3 separate regions of the Homo sapiens genome follow, and regions 1 and 2 are each linked to region 3. The links are contacts of gene promoters, found by promoter capture Hi-C in blood cells and fetal thymus (Javierre and others, 2016). All regions are on one chromosome and are shown on one strand. Each heading gives the region's core, a stretch centred on a gene start or on the middle of the fragment in contact. The rest is flanking DNA. Distances are from core to core; before and after follow the strand shown. Region 1 overlaps CHD4 (chromodomain helicase DNA binding protein 4). Region 2 overlaps NCAPD2 (non-SMC condensin I complex subunit D2). Region 3 holds the start of NOP2 (NOP2 nucleolar protein).

Region 1 (4,058 bases), core at 408-2,907, 33 kb after region 3:
TCCTCTTCGAGGTCTCCCCCAACCTCTTCCAGGATCTCCTCACCCTCCGAATTGTCCTCTTTAGCTTCCCACTGGATGCCTTCCTTCTCCTGCAGTAAAGGACCACAGATTCAGATTATTACCCCCACCCGCCCACCGCAGTCTGAAGCCAGTGCCCATCATTCCTTTGAATGCTTCCCAAAGCTCACAACCCGCAGCACCAGCATTTCCATTTCCATCCAGGCCCCGAAGAGCTTTACTGTCCCACCCTTCTTCTCATGGGTTCCAAGGGGCCACAATGGCCAGACACTCACGCAGTGTGGGCAGCTCCACTTGCCCTCGGGAGCCTTCTCCATGTCGGGATCCAGGCAGACCATGTGGTAAGCACGGGGACAGGTATCACACAGGATGATCTCACCGCCTTGCTGGCACACCTCGCAATAGTCCTGGTGGTCTGTCTCATAACCATCCACAGCAGTCACCTCCTCCTCGCCTGGGCAAGGAAGAGGGAAAGCCCAGTTATTGGAAAAAAACTACCTCCCCCCACCCCCCGACCCCTATCTCCTTAGGGAGATTCTTCCCCAATCACTCCCACCTCATCCCATCACAAATATACAGAAGAGAAACACACCTTTCTTTTTCTTTTTAGTGGTTCGGAGTTTCTTGCGGCTGCGGCTACTACGGCTGGTGGAACCATCAGAAACAGAATAGCTATTGATACTGGCATCATCGAAGTCAGATTCCACATCTAAGTCATCATCCTCACTCTGGCAGGATGAAAAAGAATAAGGTTAGACGTTCAAGCCAAGGGGAAGGACAGAGTGGCAGAGAGGGGAGTACTCTCTCACTGGGGACACCAGAATCCCAGCAAGCACCGTTATACAGGGAGCCTAGTCTCATCTTGTTCTGTGGGAAACGCCCCACATTCTTACGTGCCTACTATGAAGGACAGGTTCTGATAGAAGGTCACATCCTTTCTATTAGACATGGCACCCTCCCTAAAGCGATGGGCTGGGCTCTCACCGAGGATCTCTTACGCTTGGAACCAAAACCTCCCAGCTTGATTTTCAGGGGAGCTACTTTCTTGGGTTTAGGCTTCTTGGCATCAGGTACACGAGGGCTGCCCTTGGGCTTCCTCCGAGCATTGGGACCTAAAATCAGGATATATCCAAATATATACCACAAGACCAAAGATGGGGAAAATAAAATCTTCTCCACCTAAGCTTGCTTCCCCACATTCAGATTCCCAAATTTCCCTCCAAAATCCAAGACTCATTCCTCCCTCCTATCTCCTACCTTAGGGCTGACAGACCAGCATTCCCATGCTGTCTTTGACATCTTAAGCCCACACTAGACACCCCCACTCCCATTTGAACCCCATTTCACCTTTGCCCTCCTTGGTCTTGGCCTTGCGGATAGGCACCTCCACAGGGGGAGGTGGTGGTGCAACCTCAGTGGCTGTCACCATGCTCTCCACCACAGCTACCGCTGCTGCTGCCGCAGCTGCCACTGATGCCCCAGAACTGCCTTTGAAGGGGTTATTGGTACTGAACTCCCGCCATTTTGCACCCAAAACCATCATCATCTTGGAGACAGCAATCTTGGGATTTTTGGCAGCAATGAGGGGTCTGGTGGAGAAATGCACAAGAGCAGAGGGAAAGGTTTAAGAATAAAAAAAGAAAGAGAAGTAAGAAGAGAGAACAGAAAGATTCTCCTCCCCCTTCCCCAAACCCCTTCTGTTTTACCTGACAAACTGGCTGAAGGCCTTGTAGTTGGTGAGGGTTCGATAATCCTCCTCTGAGAACACGTGGTCAATGTCTTCCATGCCCCAGTCTTCCAGGAGCTGAGCAGATGATTTAGGCTCCTGCAGAAAGAGCAAAGTCAAGTAAGTACCTGCCACCTAGTGCCCACACTTGCTAAGCAAATTTGTGTGGAAAAATCAGAGTAACAGAGTTAAGAGGAAAAGAAGAGAAAGTGTTCTAAAGGGCAGTAAGGTGTCTAGGAAACAAAAAGACAAAAGTTTAACAGTACAAAGAAGAGGATGGAGGTCCAGGCACCTTTGAATCATCATCATCATCCTCCTCCTCCTCCTCCTCCTTCCGCTTGGATTTGCTCTTCTTCTCTTTCTTAGGTCCAAGCTTCTTCTTCTTCTTCTTGCCAGGAGTATAGTCGCTGCCCTCACTGTCTGAGCGCAGAGCCACCTCTTCCTCCTCCTCCACAAACTCTGGCCCCTCCCCAGAGCTGTCCCCCAGCTGCCGGCATAAGAGCATACGCTGGAGCAGGGCAAGGGGGGAAGAGGGAGACAGACACACACATGCTACACACATGCTGACCTCAGGACAGCCCTGAGGCTCATCCCCAGAACATGGCCCACCACTTCTGAGAAAGAAACAAATGCCCTCAGCCCTTCAACCCTTCTCAGAGCTCCTCCCTTCTTCCTCTGATTCCCCGTAACATTCAGTCACCCACTCACCTCCTTTTTTTGGCGCTTGCTCTTAGGGATTTTAGGGTCCCGAGGTTTCTTAGGCTTTTTCTTCTTCTTGAGCTTTGGAGTCTCTGTTTCTGACAAATCCTCTTCTGGGTCCTCTTCATTTTCTACATATATTTGGCAAAGAGTGGTAGGCAGGGAAAAGATCAATAGCAAAAGGTTAGGCCCTAATCCAGAGGCTTTAGACTTTATTCCCCACCTCTTGTCCCAGATTCCTCTGAAGAGAACTGCTATACTCTGTACAGGAGGAAGCTGATACCCAGGACAAAAACAGACAAAGAGAGAGCTGTATATACCCGAAATAGGCCTGCCAGGCCAGACCAGGCCCACCTCGGGCAGCTGTCCAGACCCCTGCCTCCTCTCTCCCGTTCCTACCAGTCCTCTAGATGTTCACCAGTACAGCTGAACTGAGCTGCTCAGAGTTCACCAAGTAAGAGAACTAGATTTAGGCCTCCTGTAACTGGCCACCAAGTTATTCTATAAACCAGGGAATGAGAATGAAAGATCCTACTCAGAAGGCAAAAACTATAGAATATACCTTCCCAGAACAGGATCAGTTCAGGGGTCTCGGAAACCACACCCTTCTCTAACCACTTTGAAGTCATCACTGCTCAAATTAACCAGAACCTCCAAGTCCTAGGTTCAGGTGCCAGCTCAATCTCATGCCCACTTCTAAAATACAATTTCCTTTCCCCATCTCCAACCCTAATGTTCCTCCTCAGCTTCTCCTGGGTCAGCAGCCTCTTCTCCCTAGGGGCCCGAATCAGCCCAGCTGTCACCATCTCCCCTACACCCGCCCCCCAGCAAGCCTCCTCCCATCTGGCTCCACCTCCTCCCCTGGCTGGAGGCACACACAAAGCCTGGGTAAGACTGAAAGCTCCTGGGCAAGGATAGGTGGGAAGGGACACAGAGAAGACCAGGAGGCAGCTTCCTTTGTAACAGACATTCACACTGGCTCCGACTCCCTCCTCCCTCCTCTCTCCCTCTTCCCAAGCCACCCCCGCCCAAAGGGGGGTGGGTAGAGAAAGGAGTGGAGAGAAGAAGGGAGTGCCTCACCCACTGAGGAGAGGGAAAATGGCTCCTGACCGCAGAAGCCAGCCCAGGGCACCCAGCTGCCAACATAGGACAGACAGGAAGTGGCAGGGGAGGGGGTGGGTTTGAGAGAGGTGGGGTGGCGGGGGGGGAGACTGCCCTCATAGAAGCCTCCCCAAATTACCTGGCCCCAGGTCCAAATGCCACCTACTCTGGGATGACAACAGTTCACAAGAGCCCACCCTAACATCCTAAGCAAGGAAACCCAAGGAAAGCGAGACAAACATGAAGGTAATACTAAGAGAAGAACTCGATCACTCCCTCAATCATAATTATTTTTTCAATCATCAGAGCTGAGATTTAACAAAGGCTCAGTGGACTTGTGGTCAGCGCATACAACCTTCTCCCCAAATTTCTGATACCCAAAAGATTTAGTTTGAGGAATGGAGGCCCACAAGAAGTCTCTGAAGCTCAGCTTCCTCACCACTCCCACCCAGATTCCTATCCAACATATGGGAATGTCTGCACAAAAAAACAGAGCAGGACCTAGACAGTGGTA
Region 2 (4,272 bases), core at 1,521-4,020, 48 kb before region 3:
ACAGGCTTCTCCTTGCAGTCAGAAACTCTAGTGAAAGAGACTAAGTGACACTCTCATTTAGCTGCAGTGCTGGACCCAGAGGAGGAGTGGGAAGCCATGCTGCCAGAGTTGAAGTCTACCCTGCAGCAGCTTCTACAGCTTCCCCAGGGAGAGGAGGAGATTCCTGAGCAAATTGCCAATACAGAGACAACTGAAGATGTGAAAGGACGCATCTATCAACTGCTTGCCAAAGCTAGTTACAAGTAGGCAAAAGAATGGGATATTCTTCGTGATCTGTTTATGTTTAGAGTTAACCTTTGAGAAACTTACATAATGTGTCTTTTAAATTAACTGCACACAGATATGCTGCCACCAGGTGATGGTAGATGTTTTCATGTAGTAATGGTCTGACCATAGGCCTAGTCCACAATTAAGCATGTGTTTCTACTTTATAAATGTTTAAAAAAACTACTGAAACAATTAAATGTTAACAGTATTATAATCAAACATGAGTCCTCCTTCAATTGAAGAAGAGCACCTATAAATAAGTTCTAGTTGTATGATCTTGAATAAGTTGCTTAACTTTCTGTGCCTCGGTTTCATTATCTATAAAATAAGAAATTGATTAGATCTTATGATCTCTAAGGACTTTCTAATTCTAAATTTCATGAACTAATAATATCAAACATGCTTAATACTACCTTAATCTTCAAACCTAGTATGAATCCTGATCTTAGAGAAAAGATTTCTCCTAGTGTTTTTGTGACTCTAGAACTTAACAACAAAAGCCCTTACAGCCGTCAACAAGTTTTTTTTTTTTTTTTTTTTTTTTTTTTTTGAGATGGAGTCTCACTCACTCTGTTGCCCAGGCTGCAGTACAGTGACACGATCTTGGCTCACTGCAACCTCTGCCTCCCAGGTTCAAGCAATTCTCGTGCCTCAGCCTCCCAAGTAGCTGGGACCACAGGCGCGCACCACCACACCGCACTAATTTTTTTATTTTTAGTAGAGACAGGGTTTCACCATATTGGCCAGGCTGGTCTTGAACTCCTGACCTCAGGTGATCCACCCATCTCAGCCTCCCAAAGTGCCATGATTACAGGCGTGAGCCACCGCACTCGGCTGCCAACAAGTATTCTTAAACCTCAGCCACAAGTTATTTGTTATTTATTTACTTCTTACCTAATTGGGCTGAATTTTTTTTTTGGAGACGGAGTCTTGCTCTGTTGCCCAGGCTGGAGTGCAGTGGTGCGATCTTGGCTCACTGCAACCTCCACCTCCTGGGTTCACGCCATTCTCCTGCCTCAGCCTCCCGAGTAGCTGGGACTACAGGCGCCCGCCACCACGCCCGGCTAATTTTTTTTTTTATATTTTTAGTAGAGACGGGGTTTCACCGTGTTAGCCAGGATGGTCTCAATCTCCTGACCTCGTGATCCGCCTGCCTCGGCCTCCCAAAGTGCTGGGATTACAGGCTTGAGCCACCGTGCCCGGCTTGGGCTGTTTTTAGAAGGCTAGAGAGTGGCTTGTTTGCCCTATGACTCCCTTATGTTACTTTAGTGTCTCTCTTTTTATTTTGCTAAAGCAAAAATAGAGACTATAGTTTTATAAGTGCATGTTCCACCAAGCATTCTAGTATTTTCTCCTGTCAATTAGAAAAGGATTGTTTGTTTTTGAGACAGAATCTCACTGTTGCCCAGGCTGGAGTACAGTAGCGCAATCACAGCTCACTGCAGCCTCTCACTGTAGCCTCAACCCTGCTGGGCTCAAGCGATCTCCCACATTAGCCTCCTGAGTAGCCTGGTTAATTTATTTATAATTTGTAGCTGGGATTACAGGTACACACCACCAGGCCTGGCCTTTGCCAGCCTGGGCAACGTGGCAAGAAGATAACATGTAGACAAGCAGTCAAACATGTATTCTTTTTTTCCCCCTTTTATATGACTGATAGAATTCTCTGCCCACTGATCTACCATCTTGTTTTTTTCACTTAACTATGTGTCTCAGTGGTTTTTAAAAATATTTATGGCTGGGTGCAATGGCTCATGCCTGTAATCCCAGCTACTTGGGAGGCTGAGGCAGGAGAATTGCTTGAACCCAGGAAGCAGAGGTTGCAGTGAGCTGAGATTGCTCCGCTACACTCTACCCTGGGTGACAGAGGAAGAGTCCATCTCAAAAAAAAAAAAAAATTTATAGATGGCCAGGTGCAGTGGCTCACACCTGTAATCCCAGCACCTTGGGAGCCCAAAGCTGGTGGATCTCTTGAGGCCAGGAGTTTGAGGCCAGCCTGGCCAACGTGGCGAAATGGCGAAACCCATCTCTGCTAAAATTACAAAAATTGGCCAGGTATGGTGGCACGTACCTGTAATCCTAGCTATTTGGGGAGCTGAGGCATGAGAATCACTCAAACCTAGGAAGCAGAGGTTATAGTGAGCCAAGATCATGCCACTACACTTCAGCCTGGGTGACAGAACAAGACTCTGTCTCTAAAAAAAAAAATATATATATATATATACACATATATATTTATACATAAATAGTTTCCCACTCTCCTCTTTTTTTGAGAGAGAGAGTGTCTCACTCTTTTGCCCATGCTGGAGTACAGTGGTATGATCACAACTCACTGCAGCTTTGATCTCCCAGGCTCAAGTGATCCTCCCACCTCAGCTCCCTCGAGTAGCTGAGACCACAGGCACACACCATTACACCCACAGGCACACACCATCACACCCACAGGCACACACCATCACACCCACAGGCATACACCATCACACCCACAGGCACACACCATCACACCCGGCTAACTTTTTTTACTTTTTGTATAGTTGGGTCTCCCTGTGTTGCCCAGACTGATCTCAAATTCCTGGGCTCACGTGTCCCCATTATTTTTTATGACTACATAGAATCTTATTGTCTGGATGTGCCTGAATTAACTAATTATTGAAAGTTTATTGTTTCTAAACTTAGGAAAGTTTTTAAACAGGTGTTTGGAGTAGGTTTATGATTTTAAAACTTTAAAAAGCCTTATTGGAGTTTTTTTGAAGACTGTAGTAATGCCTTGTAGGTTCAGAAATAGGAAAAGTGTTTGCAGATGAGCAGTCAGGGGAAAAAAATAGGCAAAGTGTTTTGAGCCCTACCCCTTAGTAGGTGCTGTAACAACTTTTTAAGCATGTTAAGTGCTCCTTTTCTCTGGGCAGTAGGTCCAGGGACTTGATAGAATCATGAGGTAAGCTCCCTTACAAACGGCTGCAGTGACATTCTTCTGGGTACTGACAGGCTGGTGTTCTTTCAGAAAGGCCATCATTCTCACTCGAGAAGCCACAGGCCACTTCCAGGAGTCCGAACCCTTCAGTCATATAGACCCAGAGGAGTCAGAGGAGACCAGGCTCTTGAATATCTTAGGACTTATCTTCAAAGGTAATCATTTTCCTTCTTCAGTCAATAAATAACACATGTCAACTGGTATTTACTGAGCATTAACTTTATGCCATCATTGGCCTGGTTAACAGAACCTGGTGCTGAAGAGCCCAGAGATGAATTGGCATTACTTTTGCTCTGGAATGGAAGCAGCCCACGGGCCTAAGATTGATAGTCACAGGGTGACTGTCCAGACCATAGCGGTCTTTAGGTATGGTTTTTGAGAAATTTAGATATTTTAGAGTAAGTTTTAATTTCATATCTTCACATTGTGAAAAGAGATATCCAGGGCCAGATGTCGTGGCTTATGCCTGTAATCCTAACACTTTGGGAGGCCAAGGCAGGAGGATTGCTTGAGCCCAGGAGTTGAAAATCAGCCTGAGCAACATGACGAAACCCCCATCTCTACAAGGGATACCAAAAAAAAATTAGCCAGGTGCGGTGGCACGCACCTGTAGTCCCAACTGCTCAGGAGCTGAAGTGAGAGAATCACCTTAGCCCGGGGAAGTTGAGGCTGCAGTGAGCGGTGATCATTGCCACTGCACAGCCTAGGCAACAGAGTGAGACCCCATCTCAAAAGAAAAGAAGAAGGAAAATAAATAAGTAAATATCCAGGAATGTTGACAGCTGTTGGATTCCCCTGTATCCCCTTGAACGAAACCATCCTGTACTTCTCTAACTCCTTAGGCCCAGCAGCTTCCACACAAGAAAAGAATCCCCGGGAGTCTACAGGAAACATGGTCACAGGACAGACTGTCTGTAAAAATAAACCCAATATGTCGGATCCTGAGGAATCCAGGGGAAATGATGAACTAGTGAAGCAGGAGATGCTGGTACAGTATCTGCAGGATGCCTACAGCTTCTCCCGGAAGATTACAG
Region 3 (4,096 bases), core at 285-2,784:
GTTTTGACACCCACACTTACCTCTTTCGAGCACGACTAGACAGCCTCTTGGAATTTTCGTCACTTACTGTTTAAAAAAGAAAAACGAGGCAGAACAAGTTACAGGGGACATTAAAAATAAATGGGAACGGAAATAAACATGGTAAGAGAATTAGTACACTAATTAAAAGGAGTCCATTTAAATCTCAGCCCTGTTATTATTTAATAACTGTATACAAGTTTCTTTTTTTTTTTTGAAATGGAGTTTCACTCTTGTCTTCCAGGCTGGAGTGCAATGGCGTGATCTCAACTCACTGCAACCTCCTTCTCCCAGATTCAAGCGATTCTATTGCCTCAGCCTCCCATCACCACACCCAGCTAATTGTTGTATTTTTAGTAAAGACAGGGTTTCACCATGTTGGCCAGGCTGGTCTCGAACACTGGACCTCAGGTGATCCACCTGCCTCGGCCTCCCAAAGTGTTTCCTTAATAGTGCCTCTCTCACAGGACTCTAAGATGATTAAGCGATATAACATGACCAACAAGTTTAATACAGTGCCCAGGACTTCCTACTATCTCAATAAACTGCATCCTTTATCCAATGCCCAACACAAACTCCCGGTCCAGTGTTACCTCCCACCAGTCTTCCACACAGTATACTACTACTCGGCATGAAGCAGCCAGATCCGTGCTTTTCCATTTCCACCCCTTCCAAAAGGCAAATCAGTGACTGACCCCTCCCCTTCACTACTTCCTCTTGCTACAATGTTACCCATTTTTCAAAACCCAGCTTAACAAAAACTTTTACAGTTCTGCATGGGCTCCCCCTTCCTCTGAACTCACAATTGTTTTAAATCACACTTTTCCCTTGCATGAATAATAGTTGTGTCCGTGTCTTCACATCTCTACGACCTAAACAGTTCCCTACAATCTAAACGGCTGTTTCATTCATACCTCCTAGTAACTCATACAGAGAAGATTCCACTTAAATATAAAATGAACAGAAACTAAAAAAGAGAAGAGGTTATAATACAGAATACTGCAAAAGCTGAGGGATCAGGAGGCCACAACTAATCCTTACCTGCAGGCAAGAATCTGACGAGTTCTGTCTCGGCACCCTTCTGCTTCCGGGCCTTTCGGCCTGGCCCCCGCTTCTCCTTCGTAGGGTCCAACTTGCGCCCCATGGTACTGTGGCAGGCAGAAATGGGAGAAGGTGGCGTCGCGCGTGTCGGAGGGAACGGCAGAACGCACGCTTGGCGTATTATAGTGGGAAAGGGCACAGCCTCAACTCAGCACCCGCAACTCACTCAGCACTCCCGACTCAGCACCCGCGACTCAAGCACCCCCGCTATCCCCCTGGAGGCCCGACCGAACGCCCTCCCACCTGAAACCCAGGTAGCGCACCCTTCTCCCCACGTCCCAGACCAGGTCAGTGCTGCCACTCTTCGTCCCCCAATTTCCTCTAGACCCACCAGAATGCGGGTTAATGTCCGAGAGTGCCCTTCGGGCGGCCCTCCACGTGCAATCCGGACCTAGCTTTCGGCCGGCACTCGCCACAGAATCGTTCCACGCAGGCGCACGGGTAGCGCTAGCCTCGCGGCCCCGCCTCTTCCTGTTGCGCCTAGTCGGCCGCCGCACCCGGAACTTACGCTCGCCCTGGGAACGCCAGCGGAGCCGGCGGCGGCGAGTAGGGGGCAATTCGAAGGAGACGCGCAGCTTACACCCGCGGCGGGTGGAGGGAGCAATGTGACGAAACCATTGAGCTTGACCGACCTTCCCTCATGGAGTTGGCTTTTAGCCTCACGGCCGGTTTCTGTTGGGTGAAAGCCGCACCTTCTCCTCGAACCAGGGCCCGACATTGGAGCCCTCTCCCTCGCATCCACTGCCCTAGTCCAGCGTCAAGATCACGGAATTCCAGGCTGGGCGCAGTGGCTCACGCCTGTAATCCCAGCACTTTGGGAGGCTGAGGTGGGTGGATCACTTGAGGTCAGGAGTTCGAGACCAGCCTGGCCAATATGGTGAAACCCTGCTTCTACTAAAAATACAAAATTAGCCGGGCGTGGTGGCGGGCGCCTATAATCCCAGCTACTCGAGAGGCTGAGGCAGAATTGCTTGAGCCCGGGAGGCGGAGGTTGCAGTAAGCCGAGATCGTGCCACTTAAGCCTCACCAAGAGCGAAACTCCACCTCAAAAAAAAAAAACAAAAAAACCAGCCGGGCTCGGTGGCTCACGCCTGTAATCCCAGCACTTTGGGAGGTCGAGGCGGGCGGATCACGAGGTCAAGAAATCCGAGACCATCTTGGCCAACCTTGTCTCTATTAAAAATACAAAAATTAGTTGGGCATGGTGGCTGGCGCACGCGTGTAGTCCCAGCTACTCGGGAGGCTGAGGCAGGAGAATCGCTTGAACCCGGGAGGGGGAGGTTGCAGTGAGCTGAGATCGCGCCACTGTACTCCAGCCTGGCAACAAAGCGAGACTCCATCTCAAAACAAACAAACAAAAAAAACCGTGGAATTCCATGCCACTTACCTCCTCCTCTTTGCCCCTTTTTTAAAAATCTTTTTATAGAGACGGGTTGTAGGGGGTGGCGTCTCACTATATTGCCAGGGCTGGTCTAGAACTCCTGGGCTTAAGCGATCCTCCTGCCCCCACCTTTGTGCTGAGATTACAGGCTGTGAGCCACCGTGCCCCGCCCTCCCAGCACCTTCCTTGATGCTGACCCCTGCTCAGCCCCTCAATTAAGGTGCTGCACTGCACCTCATTCGCAGGGGGCCTCTTCGCCGGAACTCGCTTTCAGGTGGGTCTACAATTAGTTGGGAAACAACGGGTTGCAAGGCTGACCTGGTCTGGGACATGAGAAGGGGTGAACTACAAGGGTTTCAAGGTTGGAGGACGTTAGGTCGGGCCTCCGGGGGTGTGGGATTGAGGCTGTGTTCTTCCACAAATTGCATCCCAATTTTGCACAACTTAGCAAGAAAACCCCCCTCAGCCTTCCTAGAAACTAACATTAAGGTAGTGGTTAGGTGTTAAAACCGTTCCATGTACTTCACTGGTTTAACTTGACAACCGTATGAGGTATACATGAGATATCTGCATCCCACCAAAGTTAAACAACTTGCTCAAGGTCACAGAGCCATTAAGCGGCGGTGCCCGCAGTTTTGCAGCCTCTCATTTTCCACAGGTGGAAGTCAACGTTGGCAAGGCACATACTGCACCCACACACAGAACCCAGTTACTCAGTGGGGTATCAGGACACCACGTAGCCCTTAATTTTCAACTATACAGGTGCCAGGCTCCTGCCGCACACACTCATCCACCTGCACCTACACCCACACTGAACCAGAGCACTAAAATACAAGGAAACTTTTATTTTCAATTTTCATCAAGAAATTTGCTGTGGTTTTTTATGCTTTTGGTTTTTTCCTTTTTTTTTTTTTCCACTTTATTTCATTTAGCCGCTCAGTGGCTAGAGCCGCTGGGTTCCTGGTATTAAAAAGATGCCAACAGAGGTAGCTGTGTCTCGCCCAGGGGCCCAGCCCACTCTGAATACCCCCCAAAAAGGAGAAAAGAAAACACAAAATAAACCAACAAAATAAAACCAAAAGGAGGAAAAAATTCAGATCATTTTCTTCAAGCCTGGCAGGAACCCACAACAGTTTGTGTGTAACAGGCGTTACAGTGGGGAGAAGCCAGGGTCCAGAAGGCCAGCCCGCCAGCTCCTGCAGATGGCGCCAGCGCTACTGCTGCATGTCTCTTCTGCAGGAAGGGCACCACTGCCCCTCACTCCCTCCCCTCCCCCAGTGCACTGGGGCTGTTCCTTTACAACATGGAAGATGGGCAGAAGGAAGGTGAGGGTCTCTCAGGCCCCCAGGGGAGAAGCTGGGACAAGAGAAAGTGAGGAAGGTCACTGCTCAGCGGTGGAGGTGGTATCAGTCTGCATCTTCACTGCTGCTGGGCTACCTAGAGAAGGAGACCCGAGGAGTCAGAATTCCAGATGATAGGAATCCACCCAATCTCAAGGGAATTCACTGATAGGCCACCCACCCAGTATGTAAAGCTAGGGACATACAGCAAAGTTACAAGCTCCAGAATGGTTCTGCAGGAAGAGGTGGTGTCAAG

The links. The method cuts DNA at HindIII sites, captures the fragments that hold promoters and counts their contacts. A CHiCAGO score of 5 or more calls a contact.
Region 1: a contact is called between a fragment that was not itself captured here and the fragment with the promoter of NOP2 in region 3, in 16 of 17 cell types (activated CD4 T cells, erythroblasts, megakaryocytes and 13 more). The highest score is 26.5, in activated CD4 T cells.
Region 2: a fragment that was not itself captured here is called in contact with the fragment with the promoter of NOP2 in region 3 in 7 of 17 cell types (erythroblasts, activated CD4 T cells, non-activated CD4 T cells and 4 more); the score reaches 9.9 in erythroblasts.

Annotation. Positions count from the first base shown.
Region 1 is chr12:6,599,924-6,603,981 of GRCh38, forward strand. CHD4 (chromodomain helicase DNA binding protein 4) reads right to left here. Exons shown (of 40, transcript NM_001273.5): 3 at 2,453-2,574; 4 at 2,037-2,252; 5 at 1,725-1,843; 6 at 1,366-1,607; 7 at 1,003-1,130; 8 at 611-746; 9 at 294-472; 10 at 1-89. Among named protein-coding and RNA genes, the nearest start is that of CHD4, 5.4 kb to the right of the region's middle. The HindIII fragment of the contact is 915 bases long and covers 1,201-2,115 here.
Region 2 is chr12:6,517,718-6,521,989 of GRCh38, forward strand. It overlaps NCAPD2 (non-SMC condensin I complex subunit D2), which reads left to right. Exons shown (of 32, transcript NM_014865.4): 13 at 62-242; 14 at 3,269-3,393; 15 at 4,081-4,272. Among named protein-coding and RNA genes, the nearest start is that of GAPDH-DT, 15 kb to the right of the region's middle. The HindIII fragment of the contact is 7,418 bases long and covers 1-4,272 here.
Region 3 is chr12:6,566,757-6,570,852 of GRCh38, forward strand. It overlaps NOP2 (NOP2 nucleolar protein), which reads right to left and starts at 1,535. Exons shown (of 16, transcript NM_001258308.2): 1 at 1,451-1,535; 2 at 1,060-1,166; 3 at 21-66. The coding sequence starts at 1,162. CHD4-AS1 (CHD4 antisense RNA 1) reads left to right here and starts at 1,615. Exons shown (of 3, transcript NR_199067.1): 1 at 1,615-2,774. It overlaps CHD4 (chromodomain helicase DNA binding protein 4), which reads right to left. Exons shown (of 40, transcript NM_001273.5): 40 at 3,326-3,937. The coding sequence ends at 3,920. RefSeq lists enhancers at 1,385-2,006, 1,830-1,879, 3,547-3,841. The HindIII fragment of the contact is 18,468 bases long and covers 1-4,096 here.